Regions from separate parts of the Homo sapiens genome. Here all the other regions are linked to region 1. Evidence: promoter capture Hi-C in 16 types of primary human blood cells and fetal thymus (Javierre and others, 2016). All regions are on one chromosome and are shown on one strand. The core of a region is centred on a gene start or on the middle of the fragment in contact, and the rest is flanking DNA. Distances in the headings are between cores, read along the strand shown.

Evidence for each region. Contacts are between HindIII fragments. The CHiCAGO score rates a contact against its expected background, and 5 or more counts as called.
Region 2: the fragment with the promoter of SPATA12 here is called in contact with the fragment with the promoter of PDE12 in region 1 in 2 of 17 cell types (endothelial precursors and M1 macrophages); the score reaches 5.7 in endothelial precursors.
Region 3: a contact is called between a fragment that was not itself captured here and the fragment with the promoter of PDE12 in region 1, in 1 of 17 cell types (M1 macrophages). The highest score is 5.5, in M1 macrophages.
Region 4: a contact is called between a fragment that was not itself captured here and the fragment with the promoter of PDE12 in region 1, in 2 of 17 cell types (endothelial precursors and megakaryocytes). The highest score is 5.4, in endothelial precursors.
Region 5: a fragment that was not itself captured here is called in contact with the fragment with the promoter of PDE12 in region 1 in 1 of 17 cell types (neutrophils); the score reaches 5.5 in neutrophils.
Region 6: a fragment that was not itself captured here is called in contact with the fragment with the promoter of PDE12 in region 1 in 1 of 17 cell types (endothelial precursors); the score reaches 5.7 in endothelial precursors.
Region 7: a contact is called between a fragment that was not itself captured here and the fragment with the promoter of PDE12 in region 1, in 2 of 17 cell types (M1 macrophages and naive CD4 T cells). The highest score is 5.7, in M1 macrophages.

Annotation. Positions count from the first base shown.
Region 1 is chr3:57,554,095-57,557,706 of GRCh38, forward strand. It overlaps PDE12 (phosphodiesterase 12), which reads left to right and starts at 2,180. Exons shown (of 3, transcript NM_177966.7): 1 at 2,180-3,593. The coding sequence starts at 2,286. It also overlaps a transcript of DNAH12 not described here. RefSeq lists enhancers at 1,674-2,453, 2,944-3,113. The HindIII fragment of the contact is 2,707 bases long and covers 318-3,024 here.
Region 2 is chr3:57,059,349-57,062,750 of GRCh38, forward strand. SPATA12 (spermatogenesis associated 12) reads left to right here and starts at 1,316. Exons shown (of 2, transcript NM_181727.2): 1 at 1,316-1,438. It also overlaps a transcript of ARHGEF3 not described here. The HindIII fragment of the contact is 10,199 bases long and covers 99-3,402 here.
Region 3 is chr3:57,192,194-57,195,525 of GRCh38, forward strand. No RefSeq gene overlaps it. Among named protein-coding and RNA genes, the nearest start is that of HESX1, 6.1 kb to the right of the region's middle. The HindIII fragment of the contact is 5,377 bases long and covers 1-3,332 here.
Region 4 is chr3:57,157,495-57,160,940 of GRCh38, forward strand. The region is part of intron 1 of IL17RD (interleukin 17 receptor D); the gene reads right to left. Among named protein-coding and RNA genes, the nearest start is that of IL17RD, 6.1 kb to the right of the region's middle. RefSeq lists enhancers at 1,425-2,110, 2,111-2,794. The HindIII fragment of the contact is 2,010 bases long and covers 796-2,805 here.
Region 5 is chr3:57,866,813-57,870,360 of GRCh38, forward strand. The region is part of intron 13 of SLMAP (sarcolemma associated protein); the gene reads left to right. Among named protein-coding and RNA genes, the nearest start is that of SLMAP, 110 kb to the left of the region's middle. The HindIII fragment of the contact is 6,509 bases long and covers 1-3,548 here.
Region 6 is chr3:57,087,887-57,091,137 of GRCh38, forward strand. IL17RD (interleukin 17 receptor D) reads right to left here. Exons shown (of 13, transcript NM_017563.5): 13 at 2,096-3,251. Among named protein-coding and RNA genes, the nearest start is that of SPATA12, 29 kb to the left of the region's middle. The HindIII fragment of the contact is 1,180 bases long and covers 1,283-2,462 here.
Region 7 is chr3:57,888,297-57,891,755 of GRCh38, forward strand. SLMAP (sarcolemma associated protein) reads left to right here. Exons shown (of 25, transcript NM_001377540.1): 15 at 1,745-1,804. Among named protein-coding and RNA genes, the nearest start is that of FLNB, 120 kb to the right of the region's middle. The HindIII fragment of the contact is 170 bases long and covers 1,623-1,792 here.

The DNA.
Region 1 (3,612 bases), core at 930-3,429:
TAGTAGAGACAGTGAAATTCCATCTCTACTAAAAATACAAAAATTAGCCAGACATGGCAGTGCACACCTGTAATCTCAGCTACTTGGGAGGCTGAGGCATGAGAATCGCTTGAACCCGGGAGGTGGAGGCTGCAGTGAGCCGAGATCACACCACTGCACTCCAGCCTGGGTGACAGAGTGAGGCTCCATCTCAAAAATAAAAAAATAAAAAAATAATTACATGGAGGCCAATGACAATTACAGTATCAAACACCTTTTTTCTTGCAATTAAAACCAAATGTTTTTAGCTTTTCCCCTTTCAAGAAAATGAAAATTAAAGCTTTTCCATAATTGCAAGCAAAACAACTCTAATGGCCCTCTTAGAAGAAATCCAGAACTTCATACTATGGCTTAGAATGCACTACACAATTTGGTGGATGCATATCTTTCTTATCTGCTACTCTCCCCTGGTCTCACCTTACTCATCACACTGGACCTCTTTCTGGTCTACAGGTAAAGCAATTCATTCGTTCTTCAAGACCTTTTTTTGTTTTGTTTTGAGACGGAGTTTCACTCTTGTTGCCCAGGCTGGAGTGCAATGGCATGATCTCAACTCACTATGACCTCCATCTCCCAGGTTCAAGCGATTCTCCTGCCTCAGCCTCCCTAGTAGCTGGGATTACAGGTGTGCGCCACCATGCCCAGCTAATTTTTTGTATTTTTAGTAGAGACGGGGTTTCACTATGTTGGCCAGGCTGGTCTCGAACTCCTGACCTTAGGCGATCCACCCGCCTCAGCCTCCCAAAGTGCTGGGATTACAGACGTGAGCCACTGGGCCCGGCGTCTTTAAGACCTTTAAAAGAAATAGCAATAAAGTGCACGATTCCTTAGGCCAGGGGAGGTGGTTTTCACTTGTTATCCCAGAATTTTGGGAGGGTAAGGCGGGGGGCTTGCTTGAGGCCAGGAGTTCGCGACCAGCCCAGGAAACATGGTGAAGCCCTTCTCTACTAAAATACAAAAATTAGCTGGGCGTGGTGGTGTGTGCCTGTAGTCCCAGCTACTTGGGAGGCTGAGGCACGAGAATCGCTTGAACTCTGGAAGCCGAAGTTGCAGTAAGCCAAGATCGCACAGCTGCACTCCAGCTTGGGTGAAAGAGCAAGGCCCTACCTAAAAAATAAAAAAATAAAATAAACAGATAAACAACTATTTCTTAATATATGCCCCATTATTATTCCTTATCTGAAATTGAATTTAACTGAGATCCTGTAATTTTATTTGTTAAATGTAGTAACTAAATAGAGTCTTCCTATTTACTAACTAAAAATAAACACTGGGTGGCTCTTGCCTGTTTGTACTTGAGAGGGTTAGGCGGGAGGATCGCACGAGCCCTGGAGTTCGAGGGGGCAGTGAGCTATGATCAGGCCACTGCACTCCAGCTTGGGCGTCAAAGTGACAACCTGTCTCTAATAAAAAATAACAAACAGCCTTCCGCAGTTTGTCAGTACTATTTCTTTCTGCCAATTAATAGTTGTGTGACCCTGAGCAGGTAATATCTCGGGACTCTGCATCTGTAAAGCGATGGATAAAGAGACCTACCTCATAAGAACTATGAGGCTTAAATAAGATAGTGTGTGTAGCGTTTCTCGCATAGTCTGCGCTCACTAAACGGAGTTATTGTATATCGTTCGTTGTTAACTACCACAAAGGCTCTGCTCAGAGGTGCGTAGGCGCTGGCTCAGCCTGGGGTGAACCCACCAGGCCACCGAAACGAGCGATCAGGGTCGGCAAAGCTGTGGAGATGAAATGGGCAACACCTTCCACACTGCGAGTAAAGCTCGCAATCCGGGTGGAGGCCTCCACGTCCTAGCGCAGTCCAGTCCCGGGCGCAGGGAGGAGAGCTGGTCAGCCAAGATTCCAAGACAGGTGTCCACCTCCTCCAACGAAGCGGAACACGTGACACCACCCTATCCACTTCCGGCTTGGAGGGCATGCCCTCCCGTCACCAGCATGCACTTTCGACAAAACCGTGGAATCTAGTATTTTCCTCTGACACCTTTATATTTTCTTCACTTCCCTATAATTCTGACCTATCGTGTAGGTAAAAATTAATCTTCAGAGTATTACAGACATGCGTGCCCACGCGCTAGGCGAAAGTGCGAGTCGGAAGCACTTCATTCCCTCTCTTCGCTAGCCGGAAGTCGCGAGATCTGAATGAGTCAAAGCCGGCGGCCTCGGCTCCTCAGCTCCACCTGACAGTAGGCCGCTGATCGGCCGCGGGTCTTGTCGACCGCTAGGCCACCAGGTTCATGTGGAGGCTCCCAGGCGCCCGCGCCGCGCTTCGGGTGATCCGGACGGCGGTGGAGAAGCTGAGCCGGGCTGAAGCGGGGAGCCAGACAGCGGCGGGAGCGATGGAGCGCGCTGTAGTGCGCTGCGTACCTTCGGAACCCAAGCTGAGCCTGTCATTCGCTTTGGCTGATGGTAGCCACAAGAACATGCAGCGCGACCAGAGCGAGCCGCTGGGTCGAGTCCTCAGCCGCATCGCTACCAATGCCCTAAAGGGTCACGCTAAGGCGGCCGCCGCCAAGAAGAGCAGGAAGAGCCGGCCGAATGCTAGCGGCGGTGCGGCCTGTTCAGGGCCGGGGCCTGAGCCGGCTGTGTTCTGCGAGCCCGTGGTGAAGCTGTACTACCGGGAAGAGGCAGTGGCTGAGGACGTGCTCAACGTGGATGCCTGGCAAGACGGCGCGGTGCTGCAGATCGGCGATGTTAAGTACAAGGTGGAGCGCAACCCGCCCGCCTTCACCGAACTGCAGTTGCCGCGCTACATCATGGCCGGGTTCCCTGTGTGCCCCAAACTCAGCCTCGAATTTGGGGATCCCGCCAGCTCCCTTTTCCGCTGGTATAAGGAAGCCAAGCCCGGAGCGGCGGAGCCCGAGGTCGGTGTCCCCTCGTCATTGTCTCCCTCCTCACCTTCTTCTTCTTGGACTGAGACTGATGTGGAGGAGCGTGTCTACACCCCGTCCAATGCCGACATCGGGCTAAGGCTCAAGCTTCACTGCACCCCAGGCGATGGGCAGCGCTTTGGGCACAGCCGGGAGTTGGAAAGTGTGTGTGTGGTAGAGGCTGGGCCTGGCACCTGCACTTTTGACCACCGGCATCTCTACACGAAGAAGGTGACTGAGGACGCTCTCATCCGCACTGTCTCTTACAACATCCTGGCAGACACGTACGCGCAGACTGAGTTCTCGCGAACGGTTCTGTACCCATACTGTGCCCCCTACGCCCTGGAGCTCGACTACCGCCAGAACCTTATCCAGAAGGAACTCACCGGCTACAACGCCGATGTCATCTGTTTGCAGGAGGTTGACCGCGCAGTGTTTTCTGACAGCTTGGTACCCGCCCTAGAGGCCTTCGGGCTCGAGGGGGTGTTTCGAATCAAGCAGCACGAAGGCCTGGCCACTTTCTACCGAAAGTCTAAGTTCAGCCTTCTTAGCCAGCATGACATTTCATTCTACGAAGCCCTCGAGTCCGACCCACTTCACAAAGAACTGCTGGAGAAACTAGTTTTGTACCCATCAGCGCAGGAGAAGGTGCTCCAGAGATCTTCTGTTCTTCAGGTAAAGTAGTTCCGCCCGT
Region 2 (3,402 bases), core at 66-2,565, 500 kb before region 1:
TAAAATACACTAACACTAACAATAGCTGATGAACTAAAAAAAAAACTCATAATGTTTTTTAAAAGTTTATGAATTTGTATTGGGCCACATGTTAGACAAGCTTGGCCTAAAGATAAGTCACATTTTGGAGTCTGTTCTTCCCCGTGTGTGTATGAGTTGGGGGTGGGGGGAGGGAGGGTGGTGAGCAGCATGATTACAAGTCCAGGCTCCTTAATCAGTGATAGGTTCAAATCTGGCTCTGCTATCTGCCACCCACATAGCCTCAGGCAAGTTGCTTCCCTCCATAAGCACATTTCCTCTTCTGCAAAGTAGGACTGAAATGACTGCCTGATGGGGTGACAATGAGGCTTTAAAAAGACGAAGAGGGGCTGGGTATGGTGGCTCACGCCTGTAATCACAGCACTTTGGGAGGCCAAGTTGGGCAGATCACCTAAGGTCCAGAGTTCAAGACCAGCCTGACAAACATGGAGAAACCCCATCTCTACTAAAAATACAAAAGTAGCCAGGCATGGTGGCACATGCCTGTAATCCCAGCTACTCGGGAGGCTGAGGCAGGAGAATCGCTTGAACCTGGGAAGCAGAGGTTGCAGTCAGCGGAGATCACGCCATTGCACTCCAGCCTGGGCAACAAGAGTGAAACTCTATCTCAAAAATAAAAATAAAAATAAAAATAAATAGATGAAGTGAGGGACAAGGCATGGTGGCTCACACCTGTAATCCCAGCACTTTGGGAGGCCAAGGCGGGAGGATCACTTGAGCCTAGGAGTTCAAGAGCTGACTGGACAACATAGCGAGACCCCATCTCTATAAAAAATTTTAAAATTAGCTGGGTGTGTGACATGTACCTACAGTCCCTGTGGGAGGATCTCTTGAGCCTGGGAGGTCAAGGCTGCAGGGAGCCGTGATTGTGCCACGGCACTCCAGCCTGGGCGACAGAGCTGAGATTCTGTCTCAAAAAAAAAAAAAAAAGGAACTTAGCCCAGGGCCCGTATGCAGCAAGCACTTAAATGGTATAGCTGCTGCTACTCGGGTTATCAAAAAGGAGCTGCAAAAAAGTCTAGGTTCTGCAGGAGAGCCCTTCCAAGAACCTGCCCAGGAAGTGGGTACACCTGTCCCCACCCCCACAGTAGGAGTCAGAATCAGGGACTGGAAGGGATGGGGTTCCTGGAGGAAGCTCACAGCAGCAGCAGCCTCTGAGTCACAACTCAGCCCCTCCCTGGCATATCCCTTTGTTTGCTGGGAGTTGAGCTGTGACTCACAAAGGCTCTGGTCCCGGGCTGGGCCCATGTGACCCAGGGTCCTGACTGCCCTGCCCACAGTCACTGAGAAAATTCTTTGTGCAGGCTCACCTTCCCCTCATCTCCCCCACTCTTCCTGATCCTGCAGCGTCAGATCCCAGCCTGCAGTATCAGACCTCAAAAGGAGCCTCTGGTGTCTTGTGAGTAGTTTACCTGCCGCCCCACCCCCACCCCGAAACACACACACACACATGGGCACACACCACCACCACTTCTTTTTTGGCCTGTGCCTGTTTTTTCACTGTGCTACATTTTGACATAAGTTCAATCTATAAAGAAAAAGTCCAGGAGAGTCCAACTCCTCTTATACTCTTTTTTATTGTGGTAAAATATAATATAAAACATACCACTTTAACCATTTTTAAGTGTACAGTTCAGTGACATCTAGCACATTCACCATATTGTACAACTCTTACCATTATCCATTTCCAGAACTTTGTTGTCATTCTAAACAGAAACTGTGTACCCATTCAGCGGTAACTCCTCCTGCACCTGCCCCTCTCCCAGCCCCTACTGTATTAATACTTCTCTCTCTAAACTTGCTATTCCAGGTACCCCCTGTAAGTGTCCTTTTGTGACTGACTTTTCTCATGTAGCATAATACTTTCATGGATCAGCATGTTGTAGCATGTGTCAAAAATTCCTTTATTTATTATTATTTTTTTTTTTGCAATGGGGTCTGGCCCTGTCATCCAGGCAGGAGTACAGTGGCACGATCATAACTCACTGCAGCCTCAAACTCCTGGGCTCAAGAGATCCTCCTATCTTGGCCTCCCAAAGTGCCAGCATTACAGGTGTGAGCCATCTCACTCAACCAGAAATTCCTTCCTTTTTAAGGCTAAATAATATTCCATTGTATGTACATACCACATTTTGTTTATCCATTCATCTGTCAATAGACATTTGTATTATTTTTACCTTTTGGCTATTGTGAATAACGCTGCTGGGAACATGGGAATGCAAGTATCTGTTTGGATCTCTGCTTTCATTTCTTTGGGTATATACCCAGATTTGGAATTGCTGGACTATATGATACCTCTATGTTTAACTCCTGTTACACTTTTAGGATTCTGGCAGCCACCACAGCTAACTCTCAGTGAGCAGTCTCTCATCCTGTGTTACTCACCACTCTAAGAATTTTTATTAACTCATTTAGTCCTGAGGTGTGGTATAATTATTTTCATCCCCATTTTACAGACAAAGAACCTGAGGTGAGAGAGGTCCTCCTTCTCAGATGGCAGCATCAGTATCTGAGCCCGCATAGGTTCAGATTTAAATTGTTTCTCCGGTTGTGACAAAAACAAGGTGCTGCTCTGCCTACAAGCATTTTCTGCCCTGAATAATGCCTTTGGGAGGGTTTCCACATCTTTCCTTGCTCTGGACTAAGGATCAAGTAAAAAAAGAGAGTGGGGCAGGGATGCTCCACTGGATTGGATCTGTCTAGACTCACTGCTAGCAGTGAGAAATCCAACTCCATCTAGATGGGTGAGAAGGGGGATTTGTAGGAAGATCCCTGGAGCAGCTCAGTCATGTGACTAGATCCAAAGGCAATGTGCCCAACCCTCCCCTCGCAGCTCCACACTCTGGGCCTGTCCTCACTGCTCTAGCGCTGGGTGAGTGCCTTCAAGCACCTTCTCTGCCACTTCTGAGTGGGTTAGGATGACCCTGAGGAAGCCCACAGCCTGGCAAGGGTGGCTTGTGTCTAGCTCCAGACCGGCTACCACAGCCGAGGGGAGGGGAACCATGATAGGCCCAGCCAGGACCACAGCCCCCACTCGGGCTCAGGCTAGGCTCAGGAGCACGGCGGCGGGGGCGGGGGGTGCTCAGGAGCATGGGGAAGCCTTTCAGAGAAGAGGGAAGGAAGCAGGGCAAGTGCCCAGCACAGATGCTGCATAATCTACAATAGCAAAAGATTGGAAGCTGCCCAGTAGTACTGAACAAAACAAGGTTAAATAAAGCTGCTCTAGCCACTCAGCAAAACACTATGTAGCTGTTTAACAAGCAGGAATATCTGGTGGGAATGACAGGACTCGCTGTTTCTCTGTCTACACACATGCACACACACACACACACAACAAACATGCACACACACATACATACACAT
Region 3 (3,332 bases), core at 95-2,594, 360 kb before region 1:
GAAAGAGATTGTGTAGAATTGATGTTACTTCCTCTTTCAATGTTAGATAGAATTTGCCAGTGAAACCATCTGGGCCTGGAGTTTACCTTTTCAGAGGTATAAAATTATTATTTCACATTTCTTTAATAAGTATAGAACTGTTATAGTTATTTGTTTCTTCTTGGGTGGATTTTAGTAGTTTGTAGATTTGATCTATTTCTTCTGAGCTATCAAATGTGCGCATAGAGTTGTTCATAGTATTATCTTATTCTTCTTTTAATGTTGATGTGGTCTGTAGTTATAGCCCCTCTTTCATTCCTAATGTCAGTGACTTGTATCTTCTCCTTTTTTTCTTTGTTAGTCTGGCTAAAGGTTTATTAATTTTATTAAGATTTGTAAAGCATCAGTTTTTGGTTTCATTGACTTTTCTCCATGGTTTTTCTGATCTTTGTCTTCTGATTATTCTGAATTTATTATGCTCTCTTTTTTGTTGTTCTTAAGGTAAAAGGTTAGATTGCTGATTTGAGATCTTTACTAAATTTTTTTTTTTTTTTTTTTTTTTGAGAAAGGGTTTCACTCTGTCACCCAGGCTGGAGTGCAGTGACATGATCATGGCTCACTGCAGCCTCAACCTTTTGAGTTCAAGCAATCCTCCCACCTCAGCTTCCTGAGTAGCTGGGACCGCAGGTGCACATCACCATGCCTAGCTTATTTATTTATTTTTTTGAGACAGAGTCTCGCTCTGTTGCCCAGGCTGGAGTACAGGGGGGTGGTCTTGGGTCACTGCAACCTCTGCCTCATGGGTTCAAGCGATTCTCCTGCCTCAGCCTCCCAAGTAGCTGGGATTACAGGCACCTGCCACCATGCCCAGCTAGTTTTTCTATTTTTAGTAGACACGGGGTTTCACCATGTTGGCCAGGCTGGTCTCAAACTCCTGACCTCAAGTGATCTGCCCATCTTAGCCTCCCAAAGTACTGGGATTACAGGTGTGAACCACCATGGCTGGCTAATTTTTTAATTTTTTGTAGACCTCGGTCTCACTATGTTGCCCAGGCTGATCTTGAACTTCTGGCCTCAAGCGATCATCCTGCCTTGGCCTCCCAAAGTGCTGAGATTACAGGTGTGAGCCACCATGCCTGGCCTCCACAAATTTCTGATGGCAATTTCAGGGAAAAAGGACTTAAATCTAGTGATTGTTGTTACATCTTAATAAGGTTTAAAATACAAAAAAAAAAAAATCTTAATGAGGCTTAATATTTATACAGGTAAGGATGTACATATTATCTAGACAAAATGCCATTTATATATAGAGAAAATATTATTTCCAAAAAATTATTGGGACTTAAGTAATTATTGATTACTTTAGGTATCAAACACTCAGACTTTTAATCCCATCCCCCTACTCCCACCCAACCCTGCCAAAAAAAAAAAGTGGAAGGAAGGAAGAAAGGGAGGAAGAAAAGAAAAATGTAGTACATGTTTCTAGCTATTAGCATCACAGCCAGTAACTCCATCTACTGGAAGGCTTAAGAGGAAGAGGCAACTCTGGAGTCAGGCAGAACTTGGTCTGAATTCTGGCTGAGCTGCTTCAGCTGTGTGGCCATGATCAAGTCATTTAATCTGTGTCCTTCAATCAGCTCATCTGTAAAATGGGGTAATAATAATCATAATAAAGGCCCGGCGTGGTGGCTCATGCCTGTAATCCCAGCACTTTGGTAGGCTGCGGTAGGCAGATCTCTTGAGGTCAGGAGTTTGAGACCAGCTTGGCCAACATGGAGAAACCCTGTCTCTACTAAAACTACAAAAATTAGCTGGGTATGGTAGCGCACGCCTGTAGTTCCAGGTACTTGGGAGGCTGAGGCAGGAGAATCGCTTGAACCCAGCGGGTGGAGGTTGCAGTGAGCCGAGATCATGCCGCTGCACTCCAGCCAGGGCAACAGAGTAAGACTCCATCTCAAAAAAAAGAATCATCATCATAATAAAAATATCTGATGCTAGGTTTTCTTATTTGTAAAGTGGATTGCCTATATTCACTTTGCAGAGTGACTGTGAAAATTAAATGGGAATATTCATGTGAAGAACCATATTGCATAGCTCATGGTGGACACTTAGTCCATTTGGGCTTCTATAACAAAAATGCCACAGACTGGGCAGCTTATATACAACAGAAATTTATTTCTCACAATTCTGGAGGCTGTGAAATCCAAGATTAAAGCATAGGCAGAAGAAGTGAGTCTAATGGGGTGTAGAGTGTTGAGAGCCACCAGGAGCTGCCTTGTGCTGTGGACTGATGTTCCAACAGGAGTCAGAACAGTCAAAATGACCATGAAAGGTATCCAAAGACTAACTTTGGAGGGGGTTTTATTCCTATGGGGCTCAGTGAAATGGAGATAGCAAGTCACCCTTTGTCAGAATGTGAGTTGAGTTCCATATTGAGAAAATTGAGCAGTTCCCAGCTCTCTGCTGGGAGGAACAAGGCCCAGGTTGATGCTCTGTGCTGGGTTTGGTAATGGGAGATTTATGCCATTCGTGTGATGTGTGATAAGATGCAGGAGGTGAAAGCGGCTATGAACACTGATTAACTCAAAAGTTGACCACCAGCACACACAGCCATTGTTTCCAGCAGCACTCTTTAGTGATGGGCTTTGTCTGGCTGGCTTCACAAAAGACAAATGCCATTACAGGAGACCAAATAACCTTATTTAGGCAGTTGTCAGATAATAGAGACGCTCCAGGTATTAGCCTGACTGCATTAGCTTGATTTGTTACTACTGTTCACCTTGTCTTGAGCATTAATGGAGACAAAAGGCCTAGAATTACCAGGAACAGAGATAAGCTGTGGATTAGAGCCTACGTGTTTTGAGGGAAAGATAATTCTATCTCGGGTTTTCCTTTCCATTTTCATTTTGCTTGATTTTTCCCGAGTCCAATTTTCCCCCTGAATATCATTATATTCTCTCCAAATTTCTAGCAATTGTAATTCCAAAAATGTTACTGATTCATTATTTCTTTTAACAAGATCAGCCTTTATCTTTAGATTTTTAAAAAAGATTTTAGGGGAAATACACTAGCAATCTTTTCTATTACCCTGCTTCTTGAGTATTCTTATATATTATGAACTTGCTTCACAAAAGTTATAATAGAACTTATATTGTTATTAGTATCAAAAAATATAAAAAAATAGGCATATTACATTTATAGTTATTTATTTAATATTATAAATTCTTGTTTTAATTTTTCTGACTTATAAATGTTTCAGTTATAAATATATCATTTCTATTATAAATGATTTCAGTTATACATATGTAGCTTCAGTTATAAATATATAAGTTCAGTTGTAAACACAATTTATT
Region 4 (3,446 bases), core at 551-3,050, 400 kb before region 1:
CTCACTCCAAATAAGTCTTTTTGAGCTTCAGATACTGAACAGTTACAATAAATCCTAACCGTGTGAGTGCCTGTGCTGCACCCAGAGCAAATGTGCACACTCCAGAGGAAGGGGCCATAAACCGTCACTCAACAGAGACCACGCTCAGGCGGCGGACTGCTGCTACATTTGGTCCATACTGCACTGCATTTTCCTCAGATAAAAGGGGGCCGTTTTGGGAGAGAAGAAACCAGAAATCACCCGGACAGAATAAAATCACAGGGAAAGGGTTTCTAAACCATATGGCCTATCTCAGGAAAACACACCTCTTCGTTCCAAGGAAGCCCTCCCTTTATCCCATTAACCCTCCCACTCTCGAGTAAAACAGTCCATCGCAGCACAGAAGTCTGGGGACACTGCCAGCATTTTTTAAAGGGTTACTATTCAATGGGGGGAAAAGATCTACAAAAATGACCAAACAGAACACTTGGAAAAACTCCTAGTTTTGAAGGCAATAAAGTACTTTTTACATCTGAAAAAAAGTTGTATTTAAGGCCTAATCCCTCATGATTTCAAAAGGATTCATATGAAGTATTCATTTAATGTGTGAAATGTAAATATCCATCCAAACATTTTAATTAATGCTACCAATTTCCATTCCGTTTTCAAAGTTGATACTTGAATTTTATATGGCTTTTCTGGTACGTTCAAGCATGCTTCCCTACCATGTAGTAGTTTTAATGAAAAGCCTCATGATTAACGTCTATTAGATCAGGTATGGAATGAAGAAAGGTACAATAAAATTACAATTTACTAAGCTTCCAATAATACTTGCCATCTACTGCCCTTTCAAGTCTTAAGGTACCAGCCATATGCAAATAAGACATTTTAGCATTAGTTTTACCATAAAATGAATGCTTCTTAAATAAGCACAGTAGAGGTAGTTTTCATTTACACTATTAAATCAGAAAATTTATGAGCCCATTTCCGTTTTAGAAGAGAATTACATGTGTGTTCACATCACATCTTTATTTTGTCGTCCACCCAGTGATTTGTTGAGGACAGCTGGTACCTATTAAGTCCCCCCCTTTAAATGTTGTAGCCTTAATTAGCTACATCCACCTTCCCCCAACATTTCCAAACAAGGAACCAAAGAAAAGGGAATCCATTTTTATCATGGATACTTTGAACAATGGAGTTGCAAACATCAATGTTAACAGTCTCTATTAGAAACTAGTTATTCGTTTTTTAGGCCACTTCACAAAAACATGGTACAAATGGAGTTTTTGTTATGTAGGTAATTTTTTAAATTGTTCAATTTTTAGTTTCCTGCCTGGTGTTATTAATTAAAAGCCTTCTTTTAATATATTGTTTGGGAAAGGATGAAGGAGTCTCCCCAGAGATATTCTTGGTATTATTTAAGCTACAGACTTCTTTCTTACTTGGACTTTTCAGCATATGACTGAACAGGTAGAATCTGCAAATAGAGAAAGCAGCAGGGTGTGGTTTTCTATGAACAGACAACATGCCCTTCCCAGACACCAAAGGGTTTCCAACTCACACAATGAGAAATTGTTGATTGGATTGCTTTAACCTGCCATATATAGATAAAACACACACTGACTTAATTTACAATGTCGATATCTCTTCTTTTTTTTTTTTTTTAAAGACACATTTACATTTATGCACTCAGGACTTCAAGTGTGAATTCTGTTCAACAGACTAAATTCTGAGCAAGATAATGGGCCATCTCAAAGATTCCCCCCTTGGATTTGTTTCTTCAAGACTGGCCCTAGCTTTAATCTGCAGTAAGACTATCTGTTTCAATAGGATGTGATCACTTGAGGGCTTGTGTCTTTTCAATCAGCCGGTGGCCCTGCCGGGTTTAGAGTGGCAGAGGGGAAGTGGCCTGTGGTTAAACAGAGGAAATACCAAGGCATTTTAATAGAGCAAATAGTCTCTTTACTTCCCACCGGGAAGAGCTTCAAAGGCTGTGGGCCCCGGAGGAGACAATGTGTTTCGGAGGCCATCAGTCACCTAATCGTGTGTCAGGCCCATTCAGAACATCCAAGCAGCCAAGACAAACACTGCCCAGGAGGACAATGCCTCCCACTGGCTGGGCAAGTCTGGCTGGCTGGAGATGGGGCCTGTAGCTCCAGCACAGACAGCCCCCCGGCTGACTGAGGGCAGGAGCTCTCCAAATTTGGGAGTAGATGGGAAATGGAAAAGGTCTGGCTGCCAGGGCAGGGTGGCCAGAGAGAGGTCTGCTCTAAGGCCACTGCACCTCTCAACCTGTCAAGCTCCCTGATAGCTGAGCCCTCTCCTCACCCCACATTCTTACAAATCAAGGGTGGAGGCTCAAGTTCTAGAAGCCTAAAAACCCATCCATCAGAAGCAGGCTGAAGAGGCAGTGGGGGGCCAGGCACGGTGGCTCACGCCTGTAATCCCAGCACTTTGGGAGGCCAAGGTGGACAGATCATCTGAGATCAGGAGTTCGAGACCAGCCTGGCCAACATGGTGAAACCCTGTCTCTACTAAAAATACAAAAATTAGCTGGGTGTGGTGGTGGACGCCTGTAATCCCAACTACTCGGGAGGCTGAGGCAGGAGAATCGCTTAAACCTGGGAGGCGGAGATTGCAGTGAGCTGAGATCATGCCAATGCACTCCAGCCTGGGCTCCAGAGCGAAACTCCGTCTCAAAAAAAGAGGCAGCGGGGAATGAAGGAGGACAATAAAATTGTTGATGGGGTAGCCCCAGCAGGAGCAGACACCTGCTGGGGCACAGTATATAAAAAGTTCAGGGACAGAGGAAGAAAAAGCCTTGAAAGCTTTAAAAAAGAAAAAAAAAACATGTTTTAGGCCAAATGAAGCATGAAAAATACTTAAAAGCACTAGCAGTTCTTTCCTTTGTTGGGAAGTTGTAAGATTTGAACTGCTGAGAATCTGATTTGGATCCTGTGCTACTCCTTCCTGAGACTGTTTTCAGACAAACCCAGCTGTTCTAGGGAGGAACTCAGGGGAAGTGTCAAGTCCTCTTCACTCCAGGCCTCCTCATCTGCCCCAGGCCAGAGGCACCCATCCAAACTAGCTTCTCCCCCGCCCCGCTTCCCTGCTCCTCCCATCCTCACACTCCCCACCCAGCCTGACCCCTTTTATCGGTCAGGGCTCTGAGAAAGTCTTCACATTCTTCTCTAAGGCCAGTGACATAATTTAAAGCCAAACTCTGATTTTAAATGTTTAGAATGTGTGTTCTCCCCTTCTTTGGATTGTGGGACCCCTGTCCCCTAAAACAATAGGTCTCATCCTGGTTACAGCATGCGTATCCTCAAAAGAATTTGTTAAAATGCCAATTCCTGGGCTCCACCTCACTCTCACTCTGATCCCATTAGCTTTCAATCTGCATTTTAACAAGCTCCTGAGGCAATTCTGATACTGGAAGGCCCAGGGTGTCACTTGGAGAAAAAGTT
Region 5 (3,548 bases), core at 626-3,125, 310 kb after region 1:
GGTCGAGGCTGCAGTGAACTGAGATCATGCCACTGCAGGCGATGGGAGTGAGACCCTGTCTCAAAAAAAAAAAAATCATGTCCGGGGCAGTGGCTCACACCTGTAATCCCAGCACTTTGGGAGGCCAAGGCGGGTGGATCACTTGAGGTCAGTAGTTGAAGACCACCAAGGTCTGGACAACTTTGTGAAACCCTGTCTCTACAAAAAATACAAAAATTAGCTGGGCGTGGTGGCACGCTACTGTAATCCCAGCTACTCTAGGAGGCTGAGGCAGGAGGATCACTTGAACCTGGGAGGCAGAGGTTGCAATGAGCCCAGATCGTGCCACTGCACCCCAACCTGGGCAACAGAGTGAGACTCTTGTCTCAAAAAACAAAACAAAACAAAACAGTCAATCAGTCATCACCCTCTTGATTTTATATTAATAATGTTAGTATTAACCCAAGCTGGGAACCTGCTATTCATTCCTTCAGTTAAGAGAATCGTTTTATGTACATGGAACCATCTTTATACTATTTAGAGTTGTAAAATTACTGATTCATTTTTTTCCAGTTCCAGTTGGTTCAGATGAAAATAATAGTAGACTGTTTTCATATTGTATTAATATAATTGTTAAAGACTCCTTGATTTTAAGAATAAATATTTTAGATACTTAAAGGTAACTCCTTGCCATAATTATTTTTTCCTTATTTGTGTGCTTGCTTTTTTGGTGGTGATATATTGAGTTACGGTATGATAGTGACTAATAGAATATTTTAAAAGAAACTAAGCAATAAATTTCTAGATGTACACGAAAACTTAGTTAAGGGTGGACTTTGGAATAAGATGCGTCACTTAATTCCATTCCAAATCACTTATAATAATGAACCAATTTTCAAGTATCCCAGTATTACCAATGTCCATACCCATATTATATAATTTTAACTAAATTATTCTTTAAATAGTAGAGAGCCAAATATAGTTGTAAGAGAATATTTTTAAATATCTGAAGATGTTAAAATTAATAATACTAATACTTTCAGTGAATCCCATTTTAAAAATTAAATATAATGTAGCTACTAAAAGCACAGGTTTTGTACTGTAAATTTTTTGTGTGTCTTATCTAATAAGCATAAGCTGAATGTATCTTAGAGAGTAAAGGACAGTGTTGTCCGAAATAAACATAAGGCTGGGTGTGGTGGCTCACACCTATAATCCCAGCACTTTGGGAGGCCAAGGTGGAAGGATTGCTTGTGTCCAGGAGTTCAAGACCAGCCCGAGCAACATAGTGAGAACCCATCTCTATAAAAAAATTAAAAATTAGCTGGGCATAGTGGTGTGCACCTGTAGACCCAGCTCCTCAGGAGGCTAGATGGGAGAATCACTTGATCCCAGGAGGTCAAGGCTGCAGTGAGTCATGATCACACCACTGTACTCAGCCTGGGTGACAGAGTGAGACCCCATCTCAAAAAAATAAAAAATAAACATAATGAGAGCCACATACATAATTTTAAATTTTCTGCTGGGCAAAGTAGCTTGCTCCTGTAATCCCAGCAAGGGAGGATTGTTTGAGCCCAGAAGCTCGAAACCAGCCTGGGCAACATAGTGAGACCCCATCTCTAAAAAGAAAAAAAAAATTTTTTTTTTAAATTAGTGAGGTGTGGTGGCATGTGCCTGTAATCCCAGCACTTTGGGAGGCTAAGCAGGGAAGACTGCTTGAGGCCATTAGTTTGAGACCAGCCTGGGCAACATAGTGAGACTTCTGTCTCTACACAAAATTTAAAAATTAGCCAAGTGTGGTAGTACACACCTGTGGTCCTAGGTAGTTGGGAGGCTGAGGAGGGAGGATCCCTTGAGCCCAGAAATTCAAGGTTGCAATGAACTATGATTGTGCCACTGTACTCCAGCCTGGACAACAGAGTAAGACCCTGTCTCTTAATTTAAAAAAATTCTGGCAGCCACATTGTATTAGTCAGGGTTCTCTAGAGGGACAGAACTAATGGAATATATATATATATATATATATATATAAAATATATATATGTGTATTATATATAAAAATATATATTATATATGTGTGTATTATATATAATATATATTATATATATTATATATGTGTGTATTATATATAATATAATATATGTTATATGTGTGTATTATATATAATATATGTGTGTATTATATATAATATATATTATATATGTGTATTATATATAATATATATTATATGTGTATTATATATATAATATATATTATATATATTATATATATAAAGGGGAGTTTATTAAGTATTAACTCACACAATCACAAGGTCCCACATAGGCCATCTGCAAGCTGAGGAGCAAGGAGAGCCAGTCTGAGTTCCAAAACTGAAGAACTTGGAGTCTGATGTTCGAGGACAGGAAGCATCCAGCACAGGAGAAAGATGTAGGCTGGGAGGCTAGGCCAGTCTCTCTTTTCACATTTTTCTGACTGCTTATATTCTAGCTGCACTGGCAGCTGATTAGGTTGTGCCCACCCAGATTAAGGGTAGGTCTGCCTTTCCCAGCCTACTGACTCAAATGTTAATCTCCTTTGGCAACAACCTCACAGACACACCCAGGATTAATACTTTGTATCCTTTAATCCATTCAAGTTGACACTCAGTATTAACCACCACACACATTAAAAATATAAAAAGCTGGGTGCAGTGGTACATGCCTGTTGTCCCAGTTACTTGGGAGGCTAAGGTAGGAGGATCCCTTGAGGCCAGGAGTTTGAGGTTGTAGTGCACTACAATCACACCTGTGAATAACTACTGCACTTGATCCTAGACAACATAGCAAGATCCCATCTCTATTATATATATATATATATATATATATATATAATATATATAAACAAAACAAATTCTAATGATCTATTTTGCCTACAGCATCCAAAATATTTCAATATTAATAAATATTAAAATGATTAATAAATTATTCATAAAATTTCATATCACTGTTTTCTTACTAATTCATTGAAATCATTGTACATTTGTTTTATGCTTAGGACATCTCAATTAGAGCTAGCCACATTTGAAGGGTTTAGTAACTACAGTAGCTAATGGCTATAGTATTAGATAACACAGGTATATAAATAAAAATCCATAGGAAACTCATTTATATAAATAAAATGTATTTTAAGTAGAGTGGTTCTCTATCTTTTTATATTAATATCAGATTTTATCTAAACCAGTTTAGTAAATATTTTAATGTAGAGTTCAGATAAAAGTGTGATTGTTAGCTTTGTAAGTAATGGTAGGATGTCCCTCTTTAATAAATGTCATCTTAAGTTCTTTGATATTAGTCTGAAATATGTTTCAAATATGTTTTGTAAAGTCCTTTAGTTAAGTTAAAATATCATTCCAAATGAGTTTATATATATATAACATGATGATGTAGTTTGAGTTTTTAAAGTGTTACCATAGCTAAAATGGGATTTATGAAAAACAACTTTTTATCCTGGCAATTACTATTATACTGAGGGCTCCCGTTTTGCTTTTCCTGGATCCAGTTGTCAAATTCTTATTTATTAGATTTTTTTTA
Region 6 (3,251 bases), core at 623-3,122, 470 kb before region 1:
CCAGCTAATTTTTAAATTTTTTTGTAAAGATGGGGTCTTGCTATGTTGCCCAGGCTGGTCTTAGACTTCTGGTCTGAAGTGATTCTCCTGTCTTGGCCTCCCAAAGTGCTGAGATTACAGGTGTAAGTCACCATGCCTGAACTATTTGTACTTTTTGAGGCCTCAGCCTGCTAAGTAGGTGAGTCTATAGGTGCGCACTGCCAAGCCCAGCTGTAACTTTTATTTTAATGAAAGAAAAGGAAAGAGAAATTCATGTATTGCAGTATCTGCCTAACGAGATCCATTTGCTTCAACTCTGAACCAGATTTACACTCAGAATTTGCAAGAGAAAGGAACCAAGTCACTCAAGATTCTTCCTTCCGCTTAAACTGTTACTGAGGGACAGAGCAGCCTATTGATCAGGAGTGGTGATGCTTCAATCAGACTTCAACTCCAGTGCTGCCAATTTCTTGTTTGTGCCCTTGGCAAAGCTATAGAATTTCTAGACATCAGAATCTCAAAATTGAGGCTGCTGATAGTACCCCCCATAGGGGGTCATGGTGAGAAAAAACATGAAGAGCACTAAGAGCAGGAACCAGCCCTACTGACATTCAGAGGTTGGCAATCATCACTTCCTCTCTGCCACTCATTTTACGGGAAAGCTCTCTATTGCCTTTGACCACACATTTTTGAGTCCATCCCTACCTGGCTGGCTTGACCTTTACCAAGGGGTTACCTGAGCAGTCTAGGTAGGGTTTGCCTCAGCTCATATCCTGGCTCTGCCACTAGCCAGCTATGGGATCACAAGTCAGTTATAGCCTCTCTGAGCCTCAGTTTCCTCATCTGTATAATGGGAACAGTACGATTGGCCACCTCACAGAGCAGCCGTGAAGATGAATGAGATGATGTGTGTAAAGCACTTAGCACTCCTGGAACTAAAAAGAATTGACAGAGTGTGGGGGAAAAGGAAATCAATGGGAGAAATGACAAGGAGCCTCCTGGGTGACTCTACCCAGGAGAAACGAAGGCTATGCGAAGGTCAGGAGGCAAGAATGTGTGAGAATTTCCTCCTCTCAGAAACAACAGTGCTTCCCTCAGAGCTGTTTTCTTTGAGGGGGTTTTGTTTTTTACCACTCCTTCTGTTTTCCTTGGGTTCCCCAGAGTAGGTTGTAGGCCCTGAGCACATTAACATCCCAGTGAAGTATGAGAAGGAACAAGTAAATAAGGAAGATCCAGTTTTTAAAATCTATTATGGTCCCAAGACCCCAAACTTAGACTATATCCTGCTCGGGCAATGGTCAAAAGCTTGTATTCTATGTCCTTGCTATTTGTTAACCCTCACTGTTCTCCTGTGGACACTGTCATTTACTGAGCATGGACTATGAGCCAGGAATGCGCAGGTGGCACTTTACATTCACCATGCAGTTTAATTCACTGCCCTCTAAAGTAGGACCTCTTTACGGGTGAGAGGCTGAGGGGCAGAGTCTGACAGTCACTGGGGCACAGCAACAGTAGCAGAGGCCAGGCATAGTGGCTCACACCTGTAGTCCCAGCACTTTGGGAGACTGAGACGGGAGGATCGCCTGAGCTCAGGAGCTCAAGAGCAGCCTGGGCAAATTAGGGAGAGCCTACCTCTTTAAAAAAAAAAAAAAAAAATTCAGCAGAGCTGGGACCTGACCCTGAAGGTGATGGACACCAAGAAGTTAACTCACAGAGCATGGGGGTCACAGGAGGGGAGGATGTCCATGGAAGACTGAGCAGGCATCTCTTTTTCTGAGTGACAAAAAAAATTTGCGTGCAGCCCCCAAATCTCAGTGGCTTTTTTCAAATTTCTAAAAAGAAAGTCCATTTGTTCTGAGAAGTCAAATTTCTTTCTGACATAAGTAACCCTGTTGCAACAGGGAAGCCTCCTGATGCCACACGGGTAATGGGCGACTGATTGCCTGTGGAGCCGAGCTGAAGGTCTAGGGCAGCAGGGTCCTGTTCTCTAAAGGGCAAGGAAGACTGGCCACCCCTGGCCTCCTCGTCCTGAGGCAGAGCCCTCTGAAAACTGGGCTGGGAACCCCAGACAGTCAGGAAACAAGAAAGATGTGCTGAAAAATGAGCCACTACAACCTTAAAACAAAACATTTTATTTAATGCAGAAATTCTAAGGTACAAAAACATTTTGTAAATGTCAGCTGTGATCTACTTTCACCTAGTTACAGAGTTATGTACAAATCAAGTCATTAACATTTTCAATGTCAAAAATACAGCACGCTGTTAAGAGTTCTGTCAGTGCTCATTATCCCACTAGATCCCACAAAGGGCAAACTCAAAGATGAAACAAAGGCAACGCCATCAATAACCACCATATTCCACAGGCTTTCTCCCCTAGGACGTACTAACAGGGAGTTTCCACAGGGAAAAATTCTCTTTTAAAAAATTAACAGTAAAAATAGGAGTTACTTACTATCTAGATGAACACAATTGGTTTTCACAAAAGCTTTTGCTGCTGTCTGGACTCACCATGCTTTTTTCTTGAGAGAAACATACCAAACTTTTTGTTGTTGTTGTTGAGACGGAGTTTCGCTCTTGTTGCCCAGGCTAGAGTGCAATGGCGTGATCTCAGCTCACTGCAACCTCTGCCTCCCGGATTCAAGCGATTCTCCTGCCTCAGCCTCTCGAGTAGCTGGGATTACAGGCACACACAACCACGCCTGATTAATTTTGTATTTTTAGTAGAGACAGGGTTTCACCATGTTGGTCAGGCTGGTCTTGAACTCTGGACCTCAGGTGATCCGCCCACCTTGGCCTCCCAAAATGCTGGGATTACAGGCGTGAGCCACCGTGCCCCGCCTGATACCAAACTTTTAAAACAACAGATGAGCACATTAGTGTAATCCAATGGCAATTTTTTGTCTAACAATTGGAGCAGCTAATTTTGTCTACATCATGTACAAATAGAAGATTGACTCTGAATCTTCCTGAAATTTTATAGGATATAAACATCAGATATGCAGTCATAACTGTTTGCTTTTGTGAGACTTCTGATTGTGCAAAACGCAGTGCTTGGTCAATTGAGAGCAGAACATAAACAAGATCCTGGAGGTGTCTATGGTCCAAGCTGAATTTTAAAGAACAAAAGGGCAAGAGGGAAGACAACTGGCCAAAATTCCCCAGACATCTTCACTGGGAGATTCAAATGTCTTTGCAAATTAGCCCTCAAACAGCAATGGGAAGGTGGTACTTAGCAACTACTGCTGTTACCACACCAGTGGTTAAACTGAAGT
Region 7 (3,459 bases), core at 458-2,957, 330 kb after region 1:
ATGACTCATTATATAAAATAATTTTTCAATATAAATACTGATTATAGGCCAGGCGCAGTGGCTCATGCCTGTAATCCTAGCACTTTGGGAGGCTGAGGCGGGTGGAGGTCAAGAGATCAAGATCATCCTGGCCAACATGGTGAAACCCCGTCTCTACTAAAAATACAAAAATTAGCTGGGTGTGGTGGTGCGCACTCATAGTCCCAGCTACTTGGGAGGCCGAGGCAGGAGAATCATTTGAACCCGGGAGGCAGAGGTTGCAGTGAGCTGAGATTGTGTCACTGCACTCCAGCCTGGTGACAGAGTGAGACTGTCTCAAAAAAAAAAAAATAGTGATTATAGATTGACAAAATGCAACTCTTGAGGATGGTAGTAGAAAATGGCAAAATTTAACCGTGTAAAATAGATTCTCAATAAATATCTAAAATGGAAAAATAAAATCAATGTATTATTTAGAAATATAAATGTAAGTATCAGAAGAAATGGCTAAAAGTTGTAGGAAGTGAATTTTAGGAATGGAGTGAAGTAGGACAGAGGACAGGTAGGACAGCTTACATTATACATCTTAATCAAAATCTGTTACTTTCTGTTTTTTTTTCTTTTTTTCTGTTTTTTTTTGAGATGGAATCTCGCTCTGTCATACAGTGGCGCCATCTCTGCTCACTGCAAGCTCCGCCTCCTGGGTTCACACCATTCTCCTGCCTCAGCCTCCCGAGTAGCTGGGACTACAGGCACCCGCCACCATGCCCAGCTAATTTTTTGTGTTTCCAGTAGAGACAGGGTTTCATCATGTTAGCCAGGATGGTCTCTGTCTCCTGACCTCGTGATCCACCCGCCTTGGCCTCCCAAAGTGCTGGGATTACAGGCGTGAGCCACTGCGCACGGCCCCTCTTTCTGATTTTAAAAAGTCAGAGACAAAGTGCCACATACTGCAAAGAGCCTATGAGAAATGAAAATTAAGAAAAGGAGCCATGGGCATTGGGAGACTAGAGGCTATAATGATATTGGAGCAGTTTCAATGGTTGAGTGGTGGATGTAGACCAAGTTGCAGTTGGTTGTAAAGCAAGAGAATAGAAAATTTTCTTCACATATATTACAAATGAATAAATTGAAGGAGACCAACTGACATACAGGAGTAAATAAGGGGACACAGAATAGATATATCCTCTTCAATGAAACGTGGAATATGAAAATATGACTTTAAATTATAAAAAAGTAGCATTATACATTTACAGAAAATCCCCCATAAAACAAAACAAAATTTTTTTATTTCTTTGAATAGCTTTTCTAAAATGATTCATTTACTGAAATACATTATATAGGCATCTCTGCTGAATTATGTCAGCAGAGAACAGTAAACTATCGATATAACTTAATTTTTATTACTTCTTCATTTGAATAAATACCTTTTCATAAATCTTTTATTTTAACTTAATAGCCTTGATCTAAAGAGGATTGCTTTATTTCTTCTGAGCCCTTTTTATAAAAATATCTAGGCTTTTAAAATAAGGTGAAAATAAAAGGCAAATTGTCTGCCTGCCCCTAGTTTTCTGCATTAACGTGATTGCTCCGTCATAGTTCCAGTTCTCTTAGTTCCCCTTCCAGATTCAAGTTTTTATTCAAGCTTGGTCATAGGAGTAATGTTATCATCTTTAAATTTGGTCATGGAATGTGTTACACTGCCCAGCTCAGGGAAATGCTGCTCAGTTTGGGCTTGGATGGTAACGTTTATTTTCCTTGGCAGAGAAGCTGATCGTCGAAGGGCATCTAACCAAAGCGGTAGAAGAAACAAAGCTTTCAAAAGGTTTGTTTTCTGTTTTTCTATGTTTTTTGACAGTTCTTTTGGATAATGAAGGTTAGTGTATATTTTCAAGGTTATAGTATTTTAACCATCAGTTTACTTCTTATAGCTCACAAAATAGCAAGCCAGTAACAGTATCAGATAATATATAAAATAATCAGACTTCTGTTTTAAGAAGGGTATCGTAACTGGAATGTGTCTTTTTAAGTGGATGTATATTTATGGTTTTTTGAATGTTAGTACTTGATATAGGTTTCTTTAGGTATTAAAGATTTGTTGCAATCTCTGTCATTCCCAGCATTAATTTCAGCTTTGATCTCAAATTTTAATCAAACACAATGTAAGTCGTTTGTGATACAACTTAAGTGAAACATGCTTGCACTTCTATTTTGGGGGTTACAGTACCTTTAAAATCTCTTATGATGTTTAATATTTCCTTAATTTTTGGCATCTCAGTTTGATTTAAACAAAATTAATGACTTTTGTGAATGTAGAATCTTCTTATATTTTATGAGTAGTCCAGTAATTGCCCAAAGTAGTTTATTGTGTTAATTCTGTTACAGTTGTCAGAGAAGAAAAGTGAGTTTTAAAGCACCATATTGTCAAGTCACTTTTATACATAGGGAAATTAGGCAAATAAATTTGGTGGCATGTGTTTATCATAGTAGAACTTTCATTAGACTATACCAGTATAAAATTTAAAACTAGATTCACAGTCCTTTTGGCCAATTAAAACATTGAGTTACAAAAGTTTGAGATACTTAATTTTAGTACATTCTATTTTATTAAAGTAACTGGATTCATTTGACTTTTTTAACCATGTAAGAGGATGGTGTTATTTCAAATATCTCGTGGTTTCCATTCTGAATTTTGTGCACGGCAGATGCCATATTTGGGGAAAAAATGCATAGAATATGCATCATTAATATTGTTTTGGCAAACAGGCATTGAGTTTCAGAACAGTGAACTATTTTTAGTACATATGGCAATTTTTTTCACCTTATTAAAGTGAGATGAGAACAGACCTTAAAATAGCTTTTACCTCACCATCCAAATACCTATTCAGATTAGTTGGTTGAATAGCCAGCACTTTGAAGTAGAGCCTTAGGAAAAAAAAAAAAAATGCTTCTTTAATTAAAATATCTTGCTATCTTATCACTTATATTTAATGCATTCTAAATTAGAAAATATTTTCTTGAAATTATGTTTTATCATTATTGGAAAAGTTTTGTGCATTACTGATTTCCCTTTTTAATTTATTGTTTTTATCTTATTGATACATAATGTGCATATTTTCAGGATATGTTTTATAGTTTGATACATTTAATGTATAAAGATCAAATCAGGGTAATTAGAATATCATCACTTTAAATATTTATCTTTGTATGATTTCCTTTTAAACCTGGCTATAAACTGTTTATTGGAAGTTTTAAAGAACATGCCTTTTGATCCAACAATTCCACTTTTGGGTTTTTAACCCTTTTTTTTTTTTCCTTGAGACGGAGTTTCGCTCATGTTGCCCAGGCTGGAGTGCAGTGGCACAATCTCAGCTCACTGCAACCTCCACCTTCTGGGTTCAAGTGATTCTCCTGCCTCAGCCTCCTGAGTAACTGGAATTATAGGCGCATGCCACCATGCCTGGCTAATTTTGTATTTTT